Regions from separate parts of the Homo sapiens genome. Here regions 2, 3 and 4 are each linked to region 1. The links are contacts of gene promoters, found by promoter capture Hi-C in blood cells and fetal thymus (Javierre and others, 2016). All regions are on one chromosome and are shown on one strand. Each heading gives the region's core, a stretch centred on a gene start or on the middle of the fragment in contact. The rest is flanking DNA. Distances are from core to core; before and after follow the strand shown.

Region 1 (3,507 bases), core at 652-3,151:
CTACTAAAAATACAAAAGAAATTAGCCGGGCGTGGTGGCGGGTGTCTATAGTCCCAGCTACTCGGGAGGCTGAGGCAGGAGAATGGTGTGAACCCGGGAGGCGGAGCTTGCAGTGAGCCGAGATCGCACCACTGCACTCCAGCCTGGGCGACAGAGCGAGACTCCATCACAAAAAAAAAAAAAAAAAAAAGAAAAAATCTTTTTTTCTCTTCCTTTTTCTTCCCTCCTTCCTCTTTTGCCCCTCTTCTTTCCTTGCTCATGTAATACTATTGTAAAGGTGTACCTTAGTTTATTCAACCAGTCTCCATGGATGGACATATAGGTTGTTTCTAAGTTTTTAATATTTTATAGAATGTGTATGGAATGATATAGTGAGTAACCTCATGAATAATGTCATTTCACTTTTGTGGAGGTATATCTTCAGAGTAAATTTGTAGAAGTGGGCTTGTGGGTCTGAGGGTAAATGCATATGTAGTTTTGTTAGCACGTATGTGGTCAAAAGCATTTTTTGCCCTGAGGCAGGGGCATGTAGCTGGTGTGCTGAAGGAATAGCAAGGAAGCCACATGAAGAAACAGGTCAAAGTCACTGGCTCAAGATCCTATGTATTAGCAGCAGAGTTGAATTAGAGCCCTGGCCTCCATCTTCATTGCACTTAGACAACAAAGAATTCGTGCATGGAAAACAGGAATGTATTTGACCAAGGCCAGTGTTACCAGGGCCATTAGGAGGTCAGAGAAAGGAGAAGTTTATATGGACCCCAGTCAGGTAGAAAATACTTCACCCCAAAATTTACAGCATCAATAAGATTTGTAATGGCCCTCTGCTGTGCATAGAGCTTGTATTAGTGTGTTTTCTTTTCTTTTTCTTTTTTTTTTTTTTGAGACAGAATCTTGCTCTGTCATCTAGACTGGAGTGCAGTCGAATGATCTTGGCTCACTGCAACCTCTGCCTTCCAGGTTCAAGCGATCCTCTTGCCTCAGCCTCCTGAGTAGCTGGGATTACAGTGCCTGCCACCACGCCTGGCTAATTTTTGTATTTTTAAGTAGAGATGGGGTTTCACCACGTTGGCCAGGCTGGTCTGAAACTCCTGACCTCAGATGATCTGCCCGTCTCAGCCTCCCAAAGTGCTGGGATTACAGGTGTGAGCCACTGCATCTGGCCTAGTGTGTTTTTATACTGCTATAAAAAACTACCTGAGACTGGGTAATTTATTTAAAAAAGAGTTTTAATTGACTCAGTTCCACAGGCTATACAGGAGGCATGGCTGGGGAGGCCTCAGGAACCTACAATCATGGAGGAAGGGTGAAGGGTAATGTTAAAGATACATTTTGATCACTTCTAGGACCTTCTGATGTAAAGGCATATTTGTTAAAATCACACCCAGAGCTTTTATTGTAAGGGTACTTTTTTTTTCTTACACTTTCAGAACTTTCCAATGTAAATATGCATTTTGAGTACTTCTGGAATTTTTCATAGTTAAGGTACATTTTCTCTTTTGCAATTAGAAATATGTGGAATAGTTATATTTTTGCACCTTGAGAATATTTGGTTCCTAATCTTTTTTATCTAATGGTTTTAATGCTTCTGAATTTCCTTCCTGATATGTTGTTATGCTGGGGCTATGCAAAATGGTGATATTCTAATGCTATTATTTCTTTTTCATAAATATTTGGCATTCTTTTATAAAGCACATGCCTTTTCTATTCTTTTCATTTTATTTTTAAATGAAAAAGCTGTGTAGCATGTGGATTAGTCACTTCATACAATAGACGTTTGATTAGAAAAGTTGGGCGCAAATGAAATGTAAAAATATGGAGTCATAGCTTATATGTACCATGGTGGTTTACTCTTCAAAGGAATCTTACTGTAAATCTTTTTTTTTTTTTTTTTTTTTTTTTGCAAAGCTAGTAATCACCTCTTAATTTCTGTTATTCTTATAAACCTGAATTTTCATGTAGGGCACATTTATTCAACAAATTATTGAGTGCTTTTTATGTGCCAGACACTGTGGTCAGCACTTGGAATAGAGTAGTAAGCAGAAAAAACATACCTGTCCTTAATGTAGGGTACATCCTTACTGTTAAGAAGACAATGACAGTTGCCCAGAACCCCATGATTGAAGGCAGTTATGAAGCTATGTCTGAGGAATCTTGATTTGGAAGGTATTATAGGCTTTTCCTAACAACCTGGTTCAATAAATGCTTTGAAGTTCAGAACCCTAAGCAACCATTCTCTATGGGTCTGATGAAAAGAATATATGATATAATTGGCAGTATCCTCCTGATGTCTTTCTAATGTAATGTCAAATTATGATTGCAGAGCCCTTTCCTCAACGTGAAATTTTGCCTAATTTTTTGTCTTAGGATATTTCCTAATATTTCTAGGGTCCACACCTCCATAAGACATGTGCCAGAGGCATGATTCAGAGGCTCCTGAGACCTTGAGGATTCAGAGCTGTTGTGAGGACATCACCAGGCAAGCCTTGCTTCAGTTACTAGATTCCGTCTGGACTGGGTAGGAAAGAAATGCCACTTTCCTGGCATTATCAATGAAGTTAATGGAAGAGCAGAGAATTTCTAGAAGTTCTGAAAAGGCTTTGAGGCTTGTGACAATCTACCATAGCTCAAACTTGAGGAGACCACCTTTCATAAGATGGATTCAAATACAATACCTGCGCTGAAAGACTTTTTTTTGCTCCTGCTTTTGGGTTGGCTATGGGACTTGCATCATCTGGCTGAATTGGACCAGCAGTTCAGGGGATGAAGAGAGGTCTCTGCTGCTTCTCAGTCACATGGCATGGCAGAAATTTTCAGCCTTCTGAATCTTCCAAGGAACGGTCAAGTGGCACTTAGCTAGATAAATGTTTACTAGAGGCATCTCTTAAAGAGTTTTCCACCAAAGATAAGTCTTTTTCTTCTATTTACTCTATACTCCAGCAATATCTCCCTACAGATTAGTAAGATGAATGTGTCCACAGTTAGGTGTATACCTGTTTTTAAAGAAAAAAGATGTCTGTTAGTTACACTGCTATGACCTCAGGTTCCAGAATATTAAGGGAACATTCTTTCAAGAGATGTTTCACTTTGGACTAATCCGAAGTTTAGAAACCAGCTTATTGCCAAAGGGAAAAAGGATAGCCCAAAGGACAAGAAAACACTTCTCACTATGAATTGGTTTGGAAGTAACTTCTTCAGGTGTCCTGAGGATCTTTCCTTACTCAACATATACTCACCTCTGTTGTCACACATGTCATCTGAAGATGAACATTTTATTTCCAACTTGAGGTAGGGAATAGGGTGAGTTTTTCCCCTAGCTTTTGCTCTTTAGTTGGACTATCGAATCAACCTCTACTTATAAGGAACCAGGGAAAAGAAAACTGGGCTTGGGAAGAAAGTGGTTGCTATCTTTTCTCCATGCAAACTTGAAAAGAGGGCAACTGATTTGTTCCTTCTGGCCTTTCTTGGCTGGTGACAAGAAAAGGGCTGGCTTGGGTGAAATGGTATCTC
Region 2 (3,507 bases), core at 660-3,159, 200 kb before region 1:
TCACCTGAGGACTGAGATGGACAGGGTCATGTAATATAAGGAGGTGCAGAGGTCAGCCCTGAGAAAGGAGAGGAGAGTTATGAGAAGTGATGGCAAGAGCCAAGAAAGAGGTATCAATTTGACCTCTGTAGCAATTTTAGAACAAGAGGGGGATTAGAGAAGAGGTCCCCTGTCAACTACCTGACCACATTATCACCTATAAAATAAGCTTTAAGATAGAAAGGGTCGGGCCGGGCACGGTGGCTCACGCCTGTAATCCCAGCACTTTGGGAGGCCGAGGAGGGTGGATCACGAGGTCAGGAGTTCGAGACCAGCCTGGCCAACATTGTGAAAACCTATCTCTACTAAAAATTCAAAAATTGGCTGGGCATGGTGGCAGGCATCTGTAATCCCAGCTACTCGGGAGGTTCAGGCAGGAGAATCGTATGAGCACGGGAGGCGGAGGTTGCAGTGAGCCGAGACTGCAACAGTGCACTCAAGCCTGGGTGACAGGGCAAGACTCCATCTCAGAAAATAAATAAATAAATAAATAAATAAATAAATAAAATAAAAAAGATAGAAAGGGTCATGTTAGATCATTCTCAAGGCCCTGCCAGCAATAGAGCATTGTGGCAAAGTTTCTGCAGTTTGAAGATTACTTCGTTAGTACACAAAGAACATTTATTCACAGCACGAATTTCAGTCGGGGCAGGCATATTGTATGGTGACAAGTAGAGCACAGACTTTGGAATCAGGCTCCCTGAGTTCAATCCTGGCTTACAGCGTACCTCTGGTTTCATGTAAGCATGCTAATACCACTTTGTATGTCTATCATGAGAGATAAATGAAATCACCGATGCAAAGGACTCATTGCAATGCCTAGAATTTTATTATTATGAGATATAAAAATTCCATTGTGAAGCTAGCAGGGAAAAAAATGCATGAACAAAACCATTTCTCTCTTTGCCTGATTTCAGTTTTTAATTTTATCATGAATTCATAATCTGCTATCAACCTTTTGCGACAGAAAATGCAATCTCAGAACTCATTCTTTTTCGCCATGACCTCTTAGGCTAAAATGAAGTGAACAAAGCAGAAATCTCTATTTTATCACAGAAGCATGGATAATTGATTGTTTTTTAAGTGATGAGGGAAAAGCAAGGAGGTTTCTCACTAAGCCCTGGTTCACACAGTGAATGTGAACACTGACTCCCTCCTCCACTGCTCCCCCCACCCCTGCTCACACCCTTCCTGCCTCCTGCCTGCTGCTAGTATCTCTCTAGCACTGTCCTAGCTCCTATGATGTACCCTCGCAGGAGTAGCTTCAATAGAAGGAAAAAATACACTTTCTATTGATTTCATTTCATATACATTTATGCTGTTGGTTGGCTGCTTTTATGTTACATCCAACCTTCAGAATTCAGGTTGGATATGTCACGTCATGATGCGCAGGGGGCATCGCGGCGTCAAAAAGAGACTGAGGCCTGCAGAGAGAGCGCCCCTGGACTTTAATGGGAGCCGAGTACAGTCAAAGGGAGAATTTTGCTTTCAGTGTATTTAACACTGCTTGCCTGGAGTTCTGCCTCCACAGGGGCTAACATCTGTGTAAAGACAGCAGGGAGAGGAGCTCCTGACCTAGGCCCTGCTGAGAACAAAGCCAGGACACCTGAGAATTGAAGGGCTCCCATCCTTCAAAGCTTTCCTAAGACAAGCATTGCTTATCATTCCCCTGCATGTCTTGATTGTTTTACTACCTATGCATGCATCACTAAACAATTTATACATAGCATTACTGTGCAAGTTTATAAAGTTGATATAAATGGCATCACATTATATGCCTTCTATTGCCACTTGCTCTTTTTGATCAACATTATGTTTTTGAGATTTATCCACATGGATCTAGTTCATTCATTTTAATAACTGCATAGCATTTTATTGCTCATGATACATTTCATTTCTTGAGTGATGGGTAACTTTGGTGTATGTTATATCCTCTTCTAAACTTTATAGCAGTCTGAAATATTTCATGATTTAAAAAATAAAGTGAGTGCTCTCTTTTGGGTTTTCCTGGATAACATAATGCTTCTGGCTGTTAATGGCTGTCCTAGTAGGCAAGAAAGCACAGCTTCCCACATATCCACATTCCTGGCTCTGTAAGCTTGAGCTCAGCCAGTAATCGTTTTGTAATAATACCTAGTGGTATTATTGAACATTTATGCTATGCCAGGCACTGTGCCCAGTGCTTTCAGAGGGTGATCTTGTTTAATCCTCATAACAATCCTACGGGGAGGAGGGTGTCATTATTATCCTCTGTTTACAGCTAAGAAAACTGAGGCTCAGAAGTTTGGTAACATGGCCAACTTCTCACAGCTAGGAAGGTGCAGAGCCAGGATTTGAAAGCAGGCCTCTAGGATTTGTGTTCTCACAACCATACCATTGCTTCCTAGTTGGGAGAGTGAGGGATGCCTTCGGCTTGGTTTGGATGCTGTCAGTTTGCCTGTTCCCTCCCACAAGATACTCTCACCCAGACACCAATTGTAGGATGGAAATGTAAAAGGAGCACTGAGAATGTAACCTTCATCCAAATCCTTCTTCATTACAGTTTTGATGAAGAAACCACCCTTTCAGATGCACCACTGAATGTAGGCATTTGCCCAGCCTCCATCCTTCCAAACAAAGCTCACTAGGGCTTGGGACCTACCACAAAGGTTGGCTGACAGGCTTTTTGGGGCCAGACCTTTAGATCTTTGAGATTTTTCTCTAAATGAGGTTATACTTAAAGTCACTGTCATTCTTATTCTTTTCCCTCTTCACTTGTCTTCCTTCTTTTCTTCCTTTTCTTTAAATTCAAATAGCATTTACATTATTTAAGGTGAGGATTTAAAATATGCCAGTTTCATAGTTCCATCTTAGTATTTTTTCTGAAAAAATTTTATGTATATTTAGGAGCCTTTAAAACAGACGTGGCCTGGACGACTGAGAAGGTTTGCTTTGACTCTGCTGCAGAGGGAAGGTCCAGAGTCTCGTAGGTCCCACTGTGTGCTGAGAATTCCATCTGATGCCCTGGATAACCCTCAAGCCTTTGCAACAGCCAGACTAAATAAAGACTCTTGAGTGATTCTGAATTCACTATCTGCAGAAGGCCTGTTAAAGGGTAACATGAAGGATATCAGTGCTTGTGTTTGTTTGTTTCACTGTATGTCCAATCCAAATTAGCACTGGCTGTGGATGAGTAACCACTGAAAATTGCTGTTGCTCAGCCAAGCTGACAGGTGACACTTCTCAACTGCAACCTTCCTCCAAAACCTACTATTAATTCTATTCTGCAACTGTGCTACCAAAATCCAAACCAATCAGTGTAAAAACAATTAAACCTCATGCCTCTGAAAAATCATCATCTGATTAATCAATCAGACAAGATTGCTTTTGGCCAGGTGCGGTGGCTCACACCTATAATCCCAGCACTCTGGGAGGCCAAGGCTGGTGGATATCTTGAGGTCAGGAGTTTGAGACCAGCCTGGCCAACAT
Region 3 (3,507 bases), core at 271-2,770, 180 kb before region 1:
ATACTATACATCAAGAGGAACCACTATTCCTTTTCACATGATTTTTTTCTTTTTTGAAATAATGATCCATCACCAAGGACCCCTTTCACCTTAACAAGACTGTTTTCCAATTTATCATCTTAGCTGGTAACAACATTTCTTCAATGTTACATAAAGAAATTGAGGGAAATTTTGCAATACTTGGGGTTACCTTTTTATCTTGGACAGTGATCCACTAGTATATCAGGCTGACCTAGTCAACTGGTGGCTATTATTGCTGATCAGCTACTTAAAAAGATGTCATACACATTAAGAGGGACAGAACTTGCTTTAGATGCTGTATGTTATTTCTGTAAATGAAGATGCCAAGAAAACATGTATGGCAGTTATTCACTTTTAAGTGAAATTCTAACAGTTGAAGATTTGATGGTGGAAGTAAATCCCAAAGGGGGCAGGGGATATATATAAACTATTTTATGCTAACCTGAAGTTTTCCAGTATTATAATTAACTCACTTCAAATTCATCTTTGAGTCAAACATGTTTTAAAATTCTTTGAAAGCACACTTTTAAAGTATTTTTAGTCCTGTTTAAGGTGTACTGAAAACTTATAGAAAGGGCCTCAAACCTTACTGAAAAAACTGTTTTTCACTTTAACACACTTCTATCTTCTGCCCCCAATACTAAAAAGTCAAATTTTCAACTTTTTACTGAGAGTGAAATAAGATGTCCATTTTGAGGTCAAAAAAATCATATGAAAAGGAATCTCATTCTGTTGAACTGTCTACTGAAATTTTTCTTAGAGTTCCATTTATTTACTGTAATTTTCAGTTTCCAAATACAAAAATACAACAATTCTTATTGAAATCTATACGCTGGTAGTTTTAGTACACAAAAAAAAAACCCAAACAAATTATTTACAAAATTATACAGTTTAAGAAAAAACTTTGTACAAAAAATATATAAATCCTTTGTTCCCTCTATCACGTTTAAACTGTCAGGACTCAAAATATTCACCACAATGAATCTTTCAAAATATATACTGACTGAGCCACAGACATCAAGAAAAATTTCATTAGAGATGATGGAGGAGTAAGGAGCAAGATTGTGTATTCTAGATACACCATTCTGATGTTTTCCTTCTTTTATAAGCTTATTTTACCTTCAGTGTTACTAGAAATATAACAATAACCTAGAAAAAGGAAGTCCTCATTATTATGAAAGAAAATTATATGAACTTAAAAATGACCCTGGTTTGACACATCATTCCAGGAAAACATGTAGAAGAATAAAGATTATCAGAACGTGGGATTTAACTTCTTATAGCTAAGTAAATCTAGAATCCTGATGGTTTTAAGTTCTTAGTGAATAGTTTCTATATTGAGAAATTGTCTTTACCTCAGCAAACAAAATCCTTGATATAGTGGTCACCAAGACCCTTTTGGAGACAACAGGAGGTTTCAAATTTTCATACCACACATATATAAAAACACAGATGTGTATATCCTTGAAAAAGTGACAGCCTAGGTACATTAATCATTTTATTTTCCCAGGGGTCAGTACAGTGTAGTGTTGCTCCTCTGCTTTTCCATCTAACATTCAGAACACGAAGACATAAATTTACATATATATTTTACTTAACAGATACTCTACTCTATACAGTGTACAGTAAAAATGCACACAGTAAAGGAAACTGTCTACTGAGGGATGCGTATGTTCATGGATAGCAACAAGCTACAAAATTATGAAAAAATAAGGTCATCTGAACAAAGTCATATATGACTCCCATTTATTACTAGCATACTCAGCCCTCAACCCCCTCCCACCTCCACCCCCCACCCCCCAGTCACCTCACCATCATGGTTTAAATTTAGGAAAAGAATTTCAGACATTTTTAAACCCTTCTGTGTAACTATACTGAACTGAAGCTTCAAAAGAGGGAAAAAATAAAGCTGGTGATTCTCTTCTCCCCAAAATCCTTCCATCATTCTCATCAAAACATCACTTATTTATCCAGGTGCTGGTTTGAACCTTTTATTGGAGACTGCCTGCGGTTGCCCAAATGAACCACTTATATCAATGATGACTAAGTCAGGCCTATTAATAGAAAGGCAAGAGGAAGAAAAGGGGGACGAGAAAGGGGCAATAGGTGAAAGCCTTTTACATTCTGAGTTATAAAAATTTTTAAAAAGACCAGCCGAACCAGCGCTCACTAAATATCAAAGCAAACTAAGAATCAGTAGCAGGAAAAGTCCAGGAGTTCATATGACAAGAGAATGGAAATACTATAGAGCTAGCTACCATTGCTGTAGCATTTAAGAACACACAGTTTGTTGTGATTTTCACTGAACTAGTACTACCACACATAAAAACCATGAAAAACAAATTTAGACTGAATACAAATTGGGCTCCTCCAAAGTAAAAAAAAAAAAAAATTAAAATTAAAATAAACATATTTTTCTTCCAAGACCACTCTTGAAAGCAAAAGGGTATTTTAATTACAAATATTTCCTACTGTCTGATGACCCATCCATAACAACTGAGAGTTAAAAGATTACAGGTGATTTTGACATTTAATTAAATTTTATCAGTAGATTATAATCCAAAATAAAATTTCTGAACACCCTGTCATTTACATCATAATCCAACACCAACAGCAACAAAAAAAAGGTGGTGTGGAAAATAAGGCTCTAGAGATTATCCATGTCATTGCTGTGGATCTTCACAACTGTGTAAAAGTCACTAGGCCTTTGGTGCTTTAATATCATGTACAGTTATGAGATGTGTTTAAATAGCAAACTTGCTGTTCTTGAACCTACTGTGTTGAAAAGAAAAATAAAAAAATTTTTTTTGGCTCATTGACTTCTTTTAAATAATTTTTAAAAGTTGTTCTTCTAAACAATATTCCTAAAAATTATACAGCTAGCATCAGATTTCATCTTCGCCATGAGCGAGACTCATATTCATCTTCATCTTCATCGTCATCATCAGGCAAAAACAAATCTGAGGTTTCTGTTTCCTGAAGAAAGAGAGGTTAAAATCTGCTTAGTGGCACAAGAATGGTAAGTAAAATACTTTTTAGGCCAAAGGACAAACAGGCTAGTATACAAAGCCCAGGCTAGATTTCATAAGGGATGCATGCAAGAGTATCTTTCAGGGCAAAAAAAAAAAAAAGCCCAAAATATTTTTGTAAATGAATATGAATTCTTCTCCCCTGCTAATTTTGCTACTTTTAATAGGAGATTTCTACTCTAATATCATCAGGAAAATAATGTGGACATTTAGTACAGAAAATTTAAAAAAGACTATGAGATACATTTCTGATAAATTAAAATTAATTTTATTCTATAAAAAATTAGGAAAATAAATGACCAAACACCTAAATCTTTGTTTTTATATCCATCCAATTGTTTGTGAGAGGTGAATATACTAGCTTCCCCATGACACTGATATTCCAAATCTTATATAAAAATCTAAAATCTTAGACAAAGTAGATGTATCTGCAAACACTACCCAAATACCATGACTT
Region 4 (3,507 bases), core at 464-2,963, 140 kb before region 1:
TCCATTTAACAGTATCTTTTTCACCGACAACCCCATTTGAGACATATTTATATGATTTAGTTATTATATATGTCCAACATCAGACATTTACTATGTGACACAAGACAAAATAAAGTGGATTTTTTTTTTTTTTTTTTGAGACGGAGTCTTGCTCTGTCACCCAGGCTGGAGTGCAGTGGTGCTCACTGCAAGCTCCGTCTCCCGGGTTCACGCCATTCTCCTGCCTCAGCCTCCCGAGTAGCTGGGACTACAGGCGCCCACCACCATGCCTGGCTAATTTTTTTGTATTTTTAGTAGAGACGGGGTTTCACCGTGTTAGCCAGGATGGTCTCAATCCCCTGACCTCGTGATCTGCCCGTCTCGGCCTCCCAAAGTGCCACCGGACCCAGCGCCCAGCCTTGAATTTTTTTTATACCTGGTGAAATGTCCTTAAAAGCTGTAAAATTCCTAAAGATTTTAAATGCACCTTAATAGGACAGGCTACAAAGCAACCACTTGGTTTCACAGTAAGTCCCTAAAGGGAATATGGAGATGCTAAACTTCACTACCCTTTTCTTCGTATATAAGAAGCAAAAGAGGAAGTAACAAATCATACTGTATAACTGTGCACTTAGCATTAACCCTTTTAAAATTTACATTTCTAATGGATGTTGGGCTTAATACCTAGGTGGTAGGTTGATCTGTGCAGCAAACCACCATGGCACACATTTACCTACGTAAAAAACCTGTACATCCTACATATGTACCCTGGAACTTAAAATAAAAGTTGATGGGGAAAAAAAAGTACATTTAAAAAGAATCAGCTAATTATTACACTGCAAAAACAATATAACATATTTTCTTTTTTTCTTTTTTTTTTACTTTTTCTTTTTTTTTTTTTTTTTTGAGAGTCTCACTCTGTCGCCCAGGCTGGAGCTGCAGTAGCATGATCTGGGCTCACGGCGACCTCTGCCTCCCAGGTTCAAGCAATTCTCCTGCCTCAGCCTCCCTAGTAGCTGGGATTTCTGGTGCCCACCACCACGCCCAGCTAATTTTTTGCATTTTTAGTAGGGACGGGGTTTCACCATGTTGCCCAGGCTGGTCTCAAACTCCTGACCTCAGGTGATCCACCCACCTCGGCCTCCCAAACTTCTGGAATTACAGGCGTGAGCCACCGTGCCCAGCCCAATTTAACATAGTCTCAATGAGGGGAACAAATAGTTGTAAGCACACAATCAATGGCAGGGAATTACTTGTGAAGAGTGACCTATCAGCAGAATGTAGTAGTATGTTAAAGAGAAAAATGGGGCCAGGTGCAGTAGCTCACATCCATAAACCCAACAATTTGGGAGGCCAAGGTGTGAGGATTACTTGAGCTCAGGAGTTTGAGACCAGCCTGAGTAACATACCGAGACTCTGTCTCTACTAAATATTTTAAAAATTAGCCATGCATGGTGGCGCACAGCTGTAGTCCTAGCTATTTGGAAGGCTAGGGCAGGAGGATCACTTGAGCCAGAAGGTCAAAGCTGCAGTGAGCCACGATTGTGCCACTGTACTCCAGCTTAGGTGACAGGGTGAGATGCTGTCTTTAAAAGAAAAAAAATTAATTAAAAAATAGAAATACATACATATATAGAAAAATGGGAAGTACAATCTTAGTCCATATGACTACTTTAAATGTATGATACATCACTTGATGTACTAAGTATACTATCTAATTAAGTATGTCTAATTAATAATAGCTGTCTCAAAGTAAACTGGAAACCAAAAGGCTACTTTGCCCAATGTCTGTTTTTAAAACTACTGACAAAGAACATACAGAAAGGCCGAGCACGATGGCTCACACCTGTGATTACAGCACTTTGGGAGGCCAAGGCGGGTGGATCCCTTGAGCTCAGGAATTTGAGACCAGGCTGGGCAATAGGGTGAAACCCCGTCTCTACTAAAATTACAAAAATTAGCCAGGCGTAGTGGTGCATGTCTGTAATCTCAGCTACTCTGGAGGCTGAGGCACAAGAATCACTTGAACCCAGGAGGCAGAGGTTGCAATGAGCCGAGACTGCACCACTGCACTCCAGCCTGGGTAACAGAGAAAGCCTCTGCCTCAAAATAAAAAACAAATACCTCAAAAAGATGGCAATTAATCCAAATGTAGCCTGACTTTCTTAAACAATTCCTACTGAGTCTCTAAATACTACTTCTAAAGCAACAGAGTTCTTTAGACAAAGGGCTAATTCTAGGTCAGGGCAGAAAATTTATAAGATGAGCCTGGTACACCTTAGTATACCTTGTCCTTCCAGAAGCAAGAGAGTTATCAAAAACTGGCATGTCAAAAATTAAAAAAAAAAAAAAAAACTAGCAGAAGCCAACATGAAGAGGCTCCTATTGATTAAAGATGAGACAATCTGAACATCAAAAAAGACTATAATGGAGTGAAACATATCAAATGTTAAAAATTCATGAGTTCATAATGATACTTAAAAAAAAAACAGGAGTTCCCTTTGGAAAAAACTAGGGAATCAACTCATTCTTAAAATTGATAAATGAAAGAAAATACACATATATCATGTCTCTTCTGTAAAAACTGCATTTCAGGTTAACCAAATGGTTGTTATAGTCAACTATATGGAATGCTAGCAATAAATGTAGAAGAAACTATAGATTTAGAGTTTCACATACAACAGCAAATCCAGGCAATGATCAAAAATGGCTGTTGAAACCATCAAGCAAGTTTTAAAATGAATGGATCAGGATGAAAACACCTTTACACACTAATCAATATTTATAACACAGAAAGGAGACAACCAGACATCATGAGCATTATAATGTACTGTGTAGGAAGTACATAACGCCATCTATAAAATGTTCTTGCCAAAAAAAGAAAAAAATTGAATTTTATCAAATACCTAGCTCTAACTTCAAATTTACAGGTAATACAGGGGATAGAGGAATGTGTTAGATGACACCAGAAGATCAATCTGCCAAGTCTAGAATGTGAGAAAATTCTTTAGGACAAATGATCTATTTCTTCAACAAATAAACGCCAAGGGAGAAAAAAAAAGAAGTAAAGGATATTTCTATAAAGACTTAAGAAAGATATCAACTAAACGTAATGTATAACCCTGTTTGGATATAGCGTCAAATAAACCAGGTACAAAAGGGCATTTATGATACAATTGAGAAATATGAAAACTAACTGGATATTTCACAAGGAATAGTAAACTGTTACAAATTTTGGGGGGGACTGTGATAATAGTACTGTGTGTATGTAGGATTTTGTGTGTATGTATGTTTAATTCTTATCTTCAAAGATACATAAGTTTTTACAGATGAAATGCTACTATATTTGGGACTTATTCTAAAACAATCATGTCATTAAGCTGAATTTTGAGGAGCAATAAAAAAGAAAACAAAAATAAAAACTAAGGCCAGGTGTGATGGCTCACATCTGTAATCCCAGCACTTTGAGAGGCTGAGGCTGGAGGACTGCTTGAGCCCAGGAGTTTGAGACCAGCCTGGGCAACATGG

What was found. Contacts are between HindIII fragments. The CHiCAGO score rates a contact against its expected background, and 5 or more counts as called.
Region 2: a fragment that was not itself captured here is called in contact with the fragment with the promoter of PLAC8L1 in region 1 in 1 of 17 cell types (non-activated CD4 T cells); the score reaches 5.1 in non-activated CD4 T cells.
Region 3: a contact is called between a fragment that was not itself captured here and the fragment with the promoter of PLAC8L1 in region 1, in 2 of 17 cell types (activated CD4 T cells and naive CD8 T cells). The highest score is 8.5, in activated CD4 T cells.
Region 4: a fragment that was not itself captured here is called in contact with the fragment with the promoter of PLAC8L1 in region 1 in 1 of 17 cell types (activated CD4 T cells); the score reaches 7.7 in activated CD4 T cells.

The regions. Positions count from the first base shown.
Region 1 is chr5:146,103,971-146,107,477 of GRCh38, reverse strand. PLAC8L1 (PLAC8 like 1) reads left to right here and starts at 1,901. Exons shown (of 4, transcript NM_001029869.3): 1 at 1,901-3,285. The coding sequence starts at 3,167. The HindIII fragment of the contact is 7,482 bases long and covers 1-3,507 here.
Region 2 is chr5:146,306,695-146,310,201 of GRCh38, reverse strand. The region is part of intron 18 of RBM27-POU4F3 (RBM27-POU4F3 readthrough); the gene reads right to left. Among named protein-coding and RNA genes, the nearest start is that of POU4F3, 30 kb to the left of the region's middle. The HindIII fragment of the contact is 461 bases long and covers 1,679-2,139 here.
Region 3 is chr5:146,285,437-146,288,943 of GRCh38, reverse strand. All of the region lies in intron 18 of RBM27-POU4F3 (RBM27-POU4F3 readthrough), which reads right to left. It overlaps RBM27 (RNA binding motif protein 27), which reads right to left. Exons shown (of 21, transcript NM_018989.2): 21 at 1-2,997. The coding sequence ends at 2,914. Among named protein-coding and RNA genes, the nearest start is that of POU4F3, 52 kb to the left of the region's middle. The HindIII fragment of the contact is 776 bases long and covers 1,133-1,908 here.
Region 4 is chr5:146,247,062-146,250,568 of GRCh38, reverse strand. The region is part of intron 8 of RBM27-POU4F3 (RBM27-POU4F3 readthrough); the gene reads right to left. All of the region lies in intron 8 of RBM27 (RNA binding motif protein 27), which reads right to left. Among named protein-coding and RNA genes, the nearest start is that of RBM27-POU4F3, 45 kb to the right of the region's middle. The HindIII fragment of the contact is 5,614 bases long and covers 1-3,507 here.